Linked DNA regions of Homo sapiens: region 2 is linked to region 1. The links are contacts of gene promoters, found by promoter capture Hi-C in blood cells and fetal thymus (Javierre and others, 2016). All regions are on one chromosome and are shown on one strand. The core of a region is centred on a gene start or on the middle of the fragment in contact, and the rest is flanking DNA. Distances in the headings are between cores, read along the strand shown.

The links. Contacts are between HindIII fragments. The CHiCAGO score rates a contact against its expected background, and 5 or more counts as called.
Region 2: a fragment that was not itself captured here is called in contact with the fragment with the promoter of HECA in region 1 in 1 of 17 cell types (total B cells); the score reaches 7.1 in total B cells.

The regions. Positions count from the first base shown.
Region 1 is chr6:139,130,822-139,137,966 of GRCh38, forward strand. It overlaps HECA (hdc homolog, cell cycle regulator), which reads left to right and starts at 4,259. Exons shown (of 4, transcript NM_016217.3): 1 at 4,259-4,846. The coding sequence starts at 4,576. RefSeq lists enhancers at 2,723-2,772, 4,051-4,345, 5,211-5,330 and silencers at 4,051-4,240, 4,351-4,430, 4,831-5,100. The HindIII fragment of the contact is 5,734 bases long and covers 1,106-6,839 here.
Region 2 is chr6:141,489,447-141,495,770 of GRCh38, forward strand. No RefSeq gene overlaps it. Among named protein-coding and RNA genes, the nearest start is that of GJE1, 640 kb to the right of the region's middle. The HindIII fragment of the contact is 2,324 bases long and covers 1,001-3,324 here.

The sequences.
Region 1 (7,145 bases), core at 3,009-5,508:
AAGAGATTTTAAGGGCAAATATTTGAGAAAAATATTAATATTGGTAATCGGGAACAGCCTAAAGGGAGAGTAGATCTATGGAATTTATTAATCAATATTATTATTTGCTTTAATATTCCATTTTTTCAAAGTTTTTATAATCACAATTGTCATTATTCCTCAAAGAAAACCTGTGGCCATAGGAAAGGCTATTTGCAGAAGAAAAAACTGATGCATGAAGACAATGCATTGCTCCAGGTGTATTTATTTGAAGTGACTTTTTAGCAGATCAGGCTTTAGTACCTTTTAGCTTATGTTTCAATTGTGGACATATTCTTGTGTGCATTACTGTGTTATCTGCAGAATTCCTTCTGAGTTCCAATATGATTTTTTCGATCAAGGTGTATTTGGATATTTGGCTTCTTACCTATGTTCTAAGTTTTCAATTATCCTTAACACATATATTTTGTACTTTAAACCTAACCAAACTTAGCTGACCCCAAGAGCTCAGAAGACAGCCACAAAATGTCAAATGAACAAAATTAGGGCACTGAAACAATGACTGCTTATTCCAGTTCAGCCTGAAGATTAGCCCACCCCTTTCTTAAGGGTGTAAATTGTTTGCTTTTGATGCCCTTGATTTGTTGCTGTGCTTTATTTTGTTTTCGCAGAGAAGTGAGCAATAGGGTGGGTGAGGTTTGGGGGAAGGAAACCTAGGATAGAGGTATAATTTTTTTGAAGTTTATATCAGAGCATGAGTTGATCAGGGAAATTGAAGAATGAGAAGGCAAGTGTAGATGTACAGAACAGAGTGGCTTCCTCAGTTCCTTGGAGTTCTTTATACTTCTGGAAGTTTCTAAGGGGAATGTTCCATTGTACCATCTGCCACCTTTTGTCTTTTGGTATGCTGTCTCTCTCTCTCACCTTCAGAAATGGTGGGAAAACGGCTAGGACAGCAGGATAGAACATAGGAAATGGAGTCCTTTAACTTCACCTACATTTTGTTCCTAACATCTTGATTTTAGTATATTGTCTTTGTAGCAATAAAATCGGAACTATTGCCTCTGCACCAAATTTGACTAAGGCTAAAAATAGATTAGCGAGGTTGAGCATGGAAGAAGTGGCAAGCTTCTCCTTCCTCCTTTTCATTTTGTTTCAGTTTGAATAGAAGGAGGTAGCTCACACAATTAACCAGAACAGCAACTGGCTGGATGTCTGGGTGCTTTGAGCCAATTAGGATATTTTTGTGGAAAGTTTCCAATTCTTAATTCTCAGTTATGTAGAGGTGGGAGGCAGCTGGTGTGAATGTCTGTCTGCAGGGTACATGCATACTAACTCTGATCCAATATGGCATGACAGCAATGTGCTTATTCAAGAAAATAATTATCTCAATTTTCTTGTACTCTAACCTAAAATGTCTTCGCCTTCACGACTTAAAAAAACAAAACAAAAAACCAGAAAAAAAAAAAGAAACGCCAAAGCTAACATCACCCACATATTTTGAGACCTCTAGTGGTATCAATAATGAAATTAAGCTAAGTCTGAATGGGCAACAGTAATTCATTATCTTCCTCCACGGACCCACTGCCCTCCCCGGGAAGTCTCCCTTTAATTAACTACCTTCATCATTTCTTCTGATTTTCAGAATTTCTTGACTTCACTCTCTCTTTCACCCCTCATTTTTGGTGTCCAAGTGGCCACCAAAGCAATATCCCAGTGTGTAAGCTGCTATGGTGAGGAAGGTGCAGGGAGTATCTGGGGACAAGTCTAGTTTTGGGTTGTCACAGATTTCCTAGAGAATTGATGATTTAGCTGAGACTTTAAGGTTCAGAATAATGTAGCCAGAAGAAGAGTGCTTTAGGTATCTTCCATGCAACAAATTTTTATTGAATACTTACTGTGGGTCAAGGTTTATGCCAGACTCTGTAGCGTTAGAAAGCTAGGCACAATCCCTGCTCTCTTAGCACCTAGGGGATTTCAAGGTTGGGGAGAAATAGACATGAAAATATAAGCACAAAATATCTATCTATCAATAGGGCCTTCTAAAGGGTCACTATCCTCTAATACATATTAGGGAATTTAAAATTTCAACTTTTTTTTTCTACTAAAGAGTCCAACCAGCAATTTCCCCTGAGTATCCAGTGCTTGCTCCTTCTTGCCGTTCCAGGCTCTGTTATGCATTCTGCTATGGTTGCCCAGAGCTCGCAATCAGAATCTCCTCTCCATTACCTGAATGTGGGGGAGAGTATTGTTTCTTGTACTTTCCTGTCTATCTGTATAGTTCACAATGAGGCAGAGAACAGAGTCTGGAGGCAGGGAACCTAAGGGCGTTTCACCCCACTTCCTAAACTAAATTGAAAGGAAAACCCTAACTTTCCACACCTGAGTAACAAAAGGACCAGAAGCTGCTCCCTTTGCAAACCCTCACCTTTTCTGCGTGGCAGATGGGAAACTGGCTGTCAGCAACCAATGAGACTGATTGCGGGTGGAGTCTTTGCATAGAAGTGCAACTTTGTAACTTCACCTTAGCCTCTGATTGGTTGCTTTTTAAACAGAAGTGTGCAAAAAGTGTGATTGCACAGAAGTGTGACCTTTGTTAACTCCACTTCAGCCTCTGATTGGTTGACGAAAGCAACCAATCAGACTAATTGTGCGTCACCACTTCATTTACATGAGAAACCTCCAGGGGGTATTTGGACCTCAGAAGATTCTGCATCCGGAACCTTGAGCCACCGCTGGGGCCGCTTCCATACTGTGGAGTGTACTTTCATTCTCAATAAATCCCTGCTTTCTTCTTTCCTTGCTTTGCTGGGCGTTTGGTCCAATTGTTTGTTCAAAATGCCAAGAACTTGGACGACTTGCAGTCAAGACCCTCTAATGGTAACAACAACACCGTGACAGAGCTTTTACTAAAGGGCTGAATTAAAGATTACACTATAAAAGGGGAACACTGTAAAGCTGTCAGCTAAACTAGTCTTTCCTCCACAGTTCGTGAGGAAGGAACCTAATTTATACATTCAACAAATTTATGCCAGCTGTTCTCTGATGTGCCCAAGGCAGATAAAATCTATCCATGGAGGTTTCATTTCAGTGAGAGGGAGATATACAAGAAATAAGTAAACACCTACATTGCCAACATAATTAGAGATGGAGGAGGAAAATAACAGGGTGGAACTTCTGACAGCTCTCCTGGGAAGGTCTCTGTGGAAGTGATGTATTTGAGCTGAGACCTGAAGGAAGGGAAGGAGTTGGCCGAAAAGGTAGAATAGAATTGCAGAAAGAGATCAAGGGGAGCTCTTCCCAGGGGTCCCCTGCCCTCATATTGCCTGTCTTCACTGGTGTCACCTAATCTCCTACTGCTCATAACCTGGCTACCTATCTTTCACTATCTTTCAGGACAACTCAGCCCTATGCATAGGGATGGGTTCCCCCCAAGCAGGGACTGCTTCAGAGTCCAGGCAACATCTAGTTACATCCCTGGATGATGGGTCTTGTTTGAGTGAATTGTTTTCACCACCAGACTGTGAAGGCTTCCCATTCAGGACCCTGGTGTTCATCCCCATTGTCTGGGAACTCTACCCTGTTTCTTTCTTTCTTTTCTTTTTTTTTTTTTTTTTTTGAGACAGAGTCTCGCTCTGTTGCTCAAGCTGGAGTGCAGTGGCGCGATCTCGGATCCCAGGTTCAAGTGATTCTCCTGCCTCAGCTTCCCGAGTTTCTGGGACTACAGGCGCACGCCACCACGCCCAGCTAATTTTTTTTTGTATTTTTAGTAGAGACAGGGTTTCACCACGTTGGCCAGGATGGTCTCGATCTCTTGACCTCGTGATACACCCGCCTCGGCCTCCCAAAGTGCTGGGATTACAGGCATAAGCCACCGCGCCCGGTCCCCTGTTTCTTTAATTACTGTTACTGAAAGGCATAGCCTTTGAATGAGTTATTAATCCAAAATCTTTTGTTTTCCATTCTTGCTCTAGTCACAGCTTATTTTTCCAGACCATACTGTTCTAAGCCTCAATTACATTAAGGCCAGGAGGCCACCGAAGAACTCCACATGCCACTGCACTGGCGGGTGGAGCAAGTCAAGCAGGGCAGCTCATGAACGCCCGGGAGTCCAGGAGGCCCGGGTGGGGACGCCTGGATGACGTCACTCGAGGTGGGCAGGCCCCGCGCGGGGCGTGACGTCACGCGGGCGGTCCCGTCAGCCGTGAGGTCACCTGGTGGGCGCGGCCAGGCCGAATCCCCAGTGTCGTCACGGGAGGGGGCGGGCCCAGAGCGTGTCAGTGCAGCCGAATCAAAACAAGCCGGAGACCCGCCTTTTCCCTCCGGCTCGGGAGCGTCTCGCTTGCGCCCCGGGCCCGCGGCGCCCGCGCGGCTGCGAGCCTCGGGTGGCCGCGTGCCGGCTCCAGGAAGCCGGAGAGGGCGCGGCGGCCAGGATGGCGCGGCACGGGCCGTGCGGCTAGACGGGAGCCGAGGGAACCGCCGGCTCGCGCCCTCCGTTCTTTCCCGGAGCCGGCTTCACGCAGGGCCGGGAACGGCCGTGCCTCTGGGATCCGCCTTCGCTGACGCCGGGCACCTACCTGGACGCGAGCGAGCGAGATGCCCAACCCCAAAAACAGCAAAGGCGGCCGCAAAAACAAGCGCGCCAACAGCAGCGGCGACGAGCAGGAAAATGGAGCCGGGGCCCTGGCAGCGGCGGGCGCGGCGGGAGCGGCGGCCGGGGGGGCCCTGGCGGCGGCGGCCGGTTGCGGGGCGGCGGCGGCGGGCGCGCCGGGCGCCGGAGGCGCGGCGGGCGCCGGAGGCGCGGGGACTGGCGCCGCGAACGCTGCGGCCGCCGCGGGGGCTGCGGCCGCGGGCGATGCCAAAAACGGTAAGACGGGGCTGGCGGGGCGAGCGCCAACTTCCTCCCCGACGGGGACGGCGCGGTGGCGGGGCCCTGGGTGGCGCGGGCGGTGCGTGGACAATGCGAGAGTCAGGAAGTGCTCACCCCGCCCCTCCGCCCCGCCGCGGCTGCCCCTTCGCGGTCCCCACGCCTGGCGGCGGGGACAGATCTGCGGCCCCTGCCCGGTGTCCGCGCGGGGGGCAGCCCGCGCCCCACACTCTGAGGGGCTCCCGGCTGCGGCAGCGCTGCCCTCGGGCCCAGCCTGCTGCCCGCGCTGGCACTGCCCCGCCGTGTGTGCCGGGCCGAAGGGAGGAAGGAAGGGAGGAAAGAGCCGCCCAAGTTGAGAAGAATGATCCGATTGAAAACTTAGGCACCGGTTAATTCTTCCCGGTGCTCCAAGGCCACCCGTAACCCCCGGAATGAAGGAGAGAGAGCCTCAATTCTTAGCACACCCAGGCTTGCTGCGTCGATCGCCACAGGTGAAGAGGCCTCGAGACATTTAGGGCCTCTGTGTTTGCTCTTTAATTTTTTGGCTTGCTTGAGGAAGGAAGAGAATCTGAACTTGACTTCCGTTCTCAGCCCGGAGTTAAAAAAAAAAAAAAAAAAAGAAAAGAAAGAAAAGAAAAATCATTCTCTATGTCATTGTGCTTAACATTTTCAGAAGGAAGCCTCATAATCTTAGGTAGTGCCTGAATGTTCCTTTTGAGGGGACACTTAGGAACTGGCCCAGATGTGACAGGATTTCTGTTCTCATTACAGAGCCATGGTTTTCGTTATAAGGTGCTGGGCAAACACTTACTTATTTGGACAGTTCTTTGAATTCCTCTAGTCAGGCACTTTTTCCAGGAAGACAACGTAGGTATTTTAATGAAGGGAGATTTGAATTGTTATATCTGGCTTTTAATTTATAGCGTCAGCTTTTGAAGCCATTCTTTATGTAGATCAGGCACTTTTTTGTTTTGTTTTTTTTTTTTTAGACGGAGTTTGCAATTTCGCCCAGGCTGGAGCGTAGTGGCGCAATCTCGGCTCACTGCAACCACCGTCTTCCGGTCTGAAGCGATTCTCCTGCCTCAGCCTCCCGAGTAGCTGGGATTACAGGCGCCCGCCACCACGCCCGGCTAATTTTTGTTATTTTTAGTAGAGACAGGGTTTCACCATATTGGTCAGGCTGGTCTCGAACTCCTGACCTCGTGATCCGCCCGTCTCGGCCTCCCAAAGTGCTGAGATTACAGGCGTGAGTCACCACGCCCAGCCAGATCAGGCACTTTTTAAACAGGGCACCTGCTCTTACAAGCAGCGTACAGTGCTCTGAACATAGGCGGCTGAATGTCGCCTGTTAGAACTGTAGGCCCCGTTGGCTGTGTCTCTGCAATATTGAAATAGGAAGATTTATTTATTTATTTTCAGAAACAAACTTACCCCGTTTGTGAATGTTTCAGAATACTAGTTTTGGGTAGCCTGTGTTCTTCATGTTCTTTTGTTTTTCTCCTGGCTTTAACCTTCATTTTGGTATTGATGTGGCAGAGAGAAAGGTGCTCAGACTCTGGGTAGGACAGACTCCTAGCTCAGCCATTTAGAGCTTCATCATCTTGGAAAGGTCAGTCTTCCAGAGCCTCAATTTCCTCATGTGTAAACTTGAAAAAAAATTACCCTGGCTCCCTCCTAGTGTTATTGAGAGGCTCAGAGTGCCCCTTCCCTATTATGCTCCCAGTTCTTGTTATTTTAAAGGTTACATATATAATGAGCTTAAAGTTTCTCACAAAGAGTGCATGAACAATGATGACAGCTTTCGTTTATTCATTTAAAAAAGATTACCTGCAGTGTTGCAAGTACCGTGTTCAATACTAAGGGATCCAGCGGTAATCAAGACGAGACATCCCGGTCCTCAGGGAGCTTGCATTCCTGTTCTGGTGGTGGTTTTGGTTTGCTCTGCCCACCCCCCTACCAGCTCCTTTTTTTTTTTTTTTTTGGCCTATGTGGAAGCTTCAAGTTCACAGTTTCCTTTTTTTTCTTGCTCCAAAAGATTAGTCCAATTTAAGGTGGCATGAGGAAATTTTTTTCTTAGGCTACTTGTACCTCCTAGTTTGTACATAACAAACTGGTTAAGGGGCCCCTATTATTATTCTCTGAAGTGGCAGACTCAAGTATATTTAGCAGCACAGTGTATGTGAAGAGCTGTTTCTGATTAGGAGCTTATTTTATTAAGTGAAAGGCGGGGAGAAAAAGGAATGGGCCAACATTCCCATAGTCAGGGTCAGAGGATGTAACTTATATTAGAGGAGTGAGC
Region 2 (6,324 bases), core at 913-3,412, 2.4 Mb after region 1:
CCCTCAGAATTAGATAAGTAATTTTGCCTGTCATGATTATAAATCTGTGCATTGAAATATTTTGACTTTTTATTTGCTAACCCAATGTGACTTGGTCCGCTTTCTAGTGCTATAACAGAATACCATACCTGGGTAATATTTATGAAGAAAAGAAGTTTATTTTGTTCAAGTTTCTGGAGACTGAAAAGTGCAAGAGCATGGTGCTGGCATCTGGCTAGGGCCCTCCTGCTGCATCATCCCATGGCAGATAGGCAGAAATGCAAGAAAGCAGACAAGACAGAGAAGGGGCCAAAATAACTAACCCACTCTCATGATACAGACCTAATTTATTCATGAGGGAAGAGCCCTTATGACCTTATTGAAAGTTCCCACCTTTTCAATGTTGCTGCATTGAGGATTAAGTTTTCAACACACAAACTTTGGGGGATGTACTAAAACCACAGCACAAGGTAACATATGTGTTAACTTACAGTGTACATTATAGAACTCTAACCATACAGGGTTCTTAGGATTTTAAGTAACAAAGTCATTGGACAAAACCACTTCATTTCTACATTTTTAAATAGCCTTACAGAAATCTAGAAAAGATAAATGCTATAATACACCTAAACGTGATAATTTTTAGCCTATTTATTTATTTATTTATTTGAGACAGAGTCTTGCACTGTTGCCTGGGTTGGAGTGCAATGGCATGATCTTGGCTCACTGCAACCTCCGTCTCCTGGGTTCATGCAGTTCTCCTGCCTCAGCCTCCCAAATAGCTGGGATTACAGGCACACACCGCCATACCTAGCTAATTTTTTGTATTTTTAGTAGAGATGAGGTTTCACTATGTTGGCCAGACTGATATCGAACTCGTGACCTTGTGATCTGCCCGCCTTGGCCTCGCAAAGTGCTAGGATTACAGGCATGAGCCACCATGCCCGACCTAGCCTCTTTATTTTTAAACAGTTTTAGATCTACAGAAAAATAGAACAAAGAATTCCAATGTAAACTTAAAAGCTTTCCATAATGTGAACACCTGAGCAGAAAAAACAAACTCAGTTTCTCTTACTATACTCTCACAACATGCTTCTGACACCATATGCAAAGGGCAAAGCAAGCAATCAATTCTACAGCAGGCCCTCGCTGGGTGTCCTCCAACCCAGCTCAATTCCCACACTCTCTACCTGGAGGTGGTGCCAGATCCCATCGGTTGAGGACTCAGTTCCACAAGACAGCCCCTAATTTCTGACAGCAATCATAAGCCCTGGGTTATTTTGCCTCTCCTTCTGACTGACTGTAAATCAGGTTTACCATATCCCCCAACTCGGGTTCAGTTAATTTACTAGAGCACTCACAGAACTCAAGGAAACATTCTCTTACATTTACCAGTTTGTTACAAAACATGTTTTAAAGGATGAAAAAAAATCAGATGAAAAGATACATAGAGCAAGGTCTAGAAGTATCCCTACTGCAGGAACTTCTGTCCCATGGAGGTGGGGTGTGCTACCCTCCAGGAACTTCACCATGTTCAGCTATCCAGGAACCCCCATTAGTCAGCTATCCAAAAGCTCTCGAAACCCTGTCATTTTGGGTATTTATGGAGACTTCATTACATAGGCAAGATTGATTAAATCATTGGCCATTGATGATCAACTTAATTTCATCCCTTCCCTTGTGGGTAGGGTGTGAGGCTGAAAGTCCCAATCCTCTAATCCTGCGTTCAGAGGCGTGTGAACAAGAGCAACTCCATCTTAAATAGGATCTGGGTAAAATGAGGCTGAAACCTAGTGGGCTGTGTTCCCAGATGGTTAAGGCATTGTAAGTCACAGGATGAGATAGGAGGTCAACACAAAATACAGGTCACAAAGACCTTGCTGATAAAACAGTTTGCAGTGAAGGAGCTGGCCAAAACCCACCAAAACCAAAATGGCAACAAGAGTGACCTCTGGTTGTTCTCACTGCTACACCCTCACCAGCGCCATGATGGTTTACAAATGCCATGGCAATGTCAGGAAGTTACCCTATATGGTCTACAAAGGGGAGGCATGAATAATCCACTCCTTGTTTAGGATATTATCAATAAACAACCGTAAAAATGAGCAATCAGCAGCCCTCAGGGCTGCTCTGTCAATAGAGTAGCGATTCTTTTATTCCTTTACTCTCTTAATAAACTTGCTTTCACTTTGCACTGCGGACTCACCCTGAATACTTTCTTGCATGAGATCCAATAACCCTCTCTTGGGGTCTGGATGGGTACCTCTTTTCTGTAACACTGCTTTGTTCTTTCCAGTGAGCAGCCCCCATCCTGAAGCTACTTAAGAGAGATGCCAGCCTAAATCAACATATTAGCATACAAAAAGATACTGGTCACATTAAAGTTTCCAACAATTTTAGTAGTTATATACCAGGAAACAGTACAAAGACCAAGTATATATTTCACAATAGCACAACATATTTCATAGCCATACTACATTTATCAAAAGTAAGAAATTAACATTGGTGCAATAGTATTAACTAAAGTTGGTTCAGAACTTACAAGTTTTCTAATGCCCTTTTTCTTTTCCAAGATTCTGTCCAGGATACCACATTACATTTAGTCATCATGTCTCCTTGGTCTCCTCCAGTCTATCTCAGTTTCTCAGACTTCCTTGTTTATAACTATCTTAAAAGTTTTGTCTATTTTCCATGACTAGTCTAAGGTTACTATGGATTTAGGGGAAAAGTTTCATAGAATTGAAGTTTGGTTTATTTTTTTCTTCCCTCATCTCCTGATAACAGGGATATCTTATCACTCATAATGTTAATTTTGAATATTTGATTAAAATGCTATTTGTTAAAATTTTCACTATAAACTACTGGATTTCCCTTTTCATATGCTATTTGATAAATGCTAGTCTTTAAATCCAACCTAATCTCAAGGGTAGGGAAATTAAGCTCCAACTCCTGGAAGGAGGAGTATCAAAGAATGTATAGACATGTATATAAAATATCACAACACTTATTAAATATTATGAGGAAGATATCTTGAAGCTATTTAACTATCTTCTTTCTTCTTAATAGTTTGTCAACTAATTTAGCATTCATCAGCAGATCTTGCTTGAAGCAATGACTATGATTTCCTAATGACTATTTTCTTTTCCCTTAATTACTTCCACATTTATTATTTGGAATTCTATAAGGAAATTTAGCCATTCTACTTCATTTATTTACTTACGTAATGTCAGTTTGGACTCATGGATACTTATGTTCTTCTTTGTGAGGCAATTCAGTATTGTTACTTTTTATTTTGCTGGCCAAAAGATTCCTGTCCCAGGCCTAGCATCAGCAATTATGCCAAGAAGCTTTACTTATTTATTTATTTTTACTGGAGAATGTTACTTAGAAACTAAGATCTAAGATCTGAGCACAAGAATGTTGCTGTGTGCCAGGCACTCTGAGCAGACAGATTTAGAAAATATATGTGTGCATATGAACACATAGATACATACACATCTATATCTACTTTTCTGTCTGTGCTTATCTACATTAATCTATGGTGTGTGTGTGTATGTGTGTGTGTGTGTGTGTATGTATAAGTGTACCAAAAATAAAATTCTAAGCACCCCTAGCTGACTCAAGCATCCCTCTCTTGGCCCAGCGGATCTCAAAGAAACCTGAAAATCTAGTTCAGGCCATGACAGAAAGAGCATGTCAGACATGTCTCATTATACTCTCCTCCTCAGCAGTTTAGATACAACTGACTAGTGTTATCATTAAATATAAGATCCTAAGACTGTCAAAACAGACTTTTTATAGCAATAAGATACCAAATTCCAACCCAACTCTCATATAGCATCACATGACAAATAACAGGCCCTGAAGGAAATCTAATTATTTTACCCCAAAATATATTTATTTGACATATTCTGAAATGGCCCTGCAAAATTGTCTCTTGTGGGTGAAATTTGCACCCTGTAGAGAATCTCCTTCTCTTACTACGTCTTTTCTTGAGAATCTGACACTATTTGAGGACTGATAAGAGACATTCACCAACTATTTTCTCTGAAGACTGCTACTTGGAAGCTTCATCTACATAACAAGAATCTTGGCTTCCACAACCTTCTTATATAAACTCAAACACTTCTTTATGCTAAATTCAACGTTTTAGTCAGGGCTTAACTCTTTTAAACAAATACCAATCAGGAAATCTTTTAATTCACGTATGATCTGGAAGCCCCACAACTTTGAGACATCCCCCCTTTCCAGGCCAAACCAGTGTGTATACCTTACATGTATTGATTTTGTCTTTGCCTGTGACTTCTATCTCCTTAAAATGTATAAAACCAAACTGTAACCCAACCACCTGGGGCACATTTTCTTAGGAACTCTGGAGGCTGTCATGGGCCATGGGCCATGGTCCTTAACCTTGGCAAAATAAACCTCTAAATTGATTGAGATCTGTTTCAGATATCTTTTAGTTAACATATGTGTTACTATGTTTACAAAATAAAATATATATACTATGTATATATATTTTTGTGTATATATATGTATATGTATATACATATATATGTATACACATAGGCATTCATACATATACATATATGTATGCATATACATATGCATGCATATATGTGTATATACCACACACACACACACACACACACACACACACACACACACACAGACATACATACTTGAATTCCTATCTTTGATTTTTACCCAGCACAATAGGATTTATTCTAACCTTGTCTCATACCTTATTTGTATTTTTTCTGACAATGAAACATTTGGCTCTAATTATACATATGTATACATTTAATCAACTCTAGTATATATAAAATAGTTTCAGAATTGAGTAAAAAAACACCAAATAAAGGATAGTGTTTGTATGTAATTCATTATATATTTATTTCTATAATATTGAATGAAACACTGATTTTCAGTTACTTGTCAGGTCCTTTTTATTTTGCCCCATTCAATGAAGTCTGCCATATATATGAGATACACTTAGATTCATTTACAACATTCTGCTTGCCATCTTGGTATTCCACAATATCATAATTTATTTTTAGTATTTTTCATAAAGTACACTCTTTGTGGTATACAATTCTGTAAGTTTAAAAAAATTATACTCATATATCTGCCATGAAATTGCCATACAGAACTGTTTCATTACCCTACAGTTCTCTTGGGCAGTCCCTTGTGAGTCAAATTCTTAGCTTCCATGCCTTCTTATCAACCACTAATTTGTTTCCCAAACTTAAGTTTTATGTTTTTTAGAATTTTGTATAAATTGAATTCTTTCACATGGAAAAATGCATTTAAGATTCGTCCATATTATTGCTTGTATCAGTTGCGTATTTCTTTTTATTGCCAAGTAGCATTTGTTGTATGTACAGTAGAGTTTCTTTATCCATTCACCTGTTAAAGGACATCTTGTTTGTTTCTTATTGGGCTGATGATTAATAAAGAATAAATCATCTTTAAATATTTGCACAAATGCCTTTTGTGCGTGAACATAACTTTTCAATTCACTGGGAAGTATGTGGGAGTGTGATTATTGATTGTATTAATATTGTATGTTTAAACATTATAATGGATCATAGATTTAACCTTTCTGTATTATTCTTTACTTTAGCAACTTCTTGTAATTATTTCAAAATTATCAGTTATAAGAAAGTAAAAAAAAAAAAAGAAACTTCCAGGTTGACTTAAAAAGTGACTGTGACCTTTTGCCTTCCTACCAAAGCTGAAAGAGTTTTTTTTTTTTTATTTTTTAGCACATTAGAAATATCATTCCATTGTATGTTTGTTTATATGGCTTCACGTAAGACATTGGCTATTTTCTTATTTATGTGTCTTTCTAAGCAATGTGTCTTTCTTTTCTCTGTTTGCCTTTAAAATTTTCTCTGTCTTTGGGTTTAGTTTTGTTTGCTTCTTTGTTCATGTTCTGTCGTTTTGGTTTTCACATGCATCTTCTTTCTTGCTCTACGAGAATATTGGATCTTTTGTTTGGTGTCTGTCACTAATTTAGAACACTGTTAACCATTATTTCTTCGAGTATATTTTCATCCCTCTTTCATCTTTCTTCTGCTTCAAGGGCTCCACTAGGTTTATGTTAGATTATATGATATTAATATTGTTTCACAAATCTTGGAAGTTATTTTATTTTATTTTATTTTTTGAGACGGAGTTTTACTCTTGTTGCCCAGGCTGAAGTGCAATGGTGCGATCTCGGCTCGCTGCAACCTCTGCCTCCCGGGTTCAGGTGATTCTCCTGCCTCAGCCTCCCTAGTAGCTGGGATTATAGGCATGCGCCACCATGCCCGGCTAATTTTGTATTTTTAGTAGAGACGG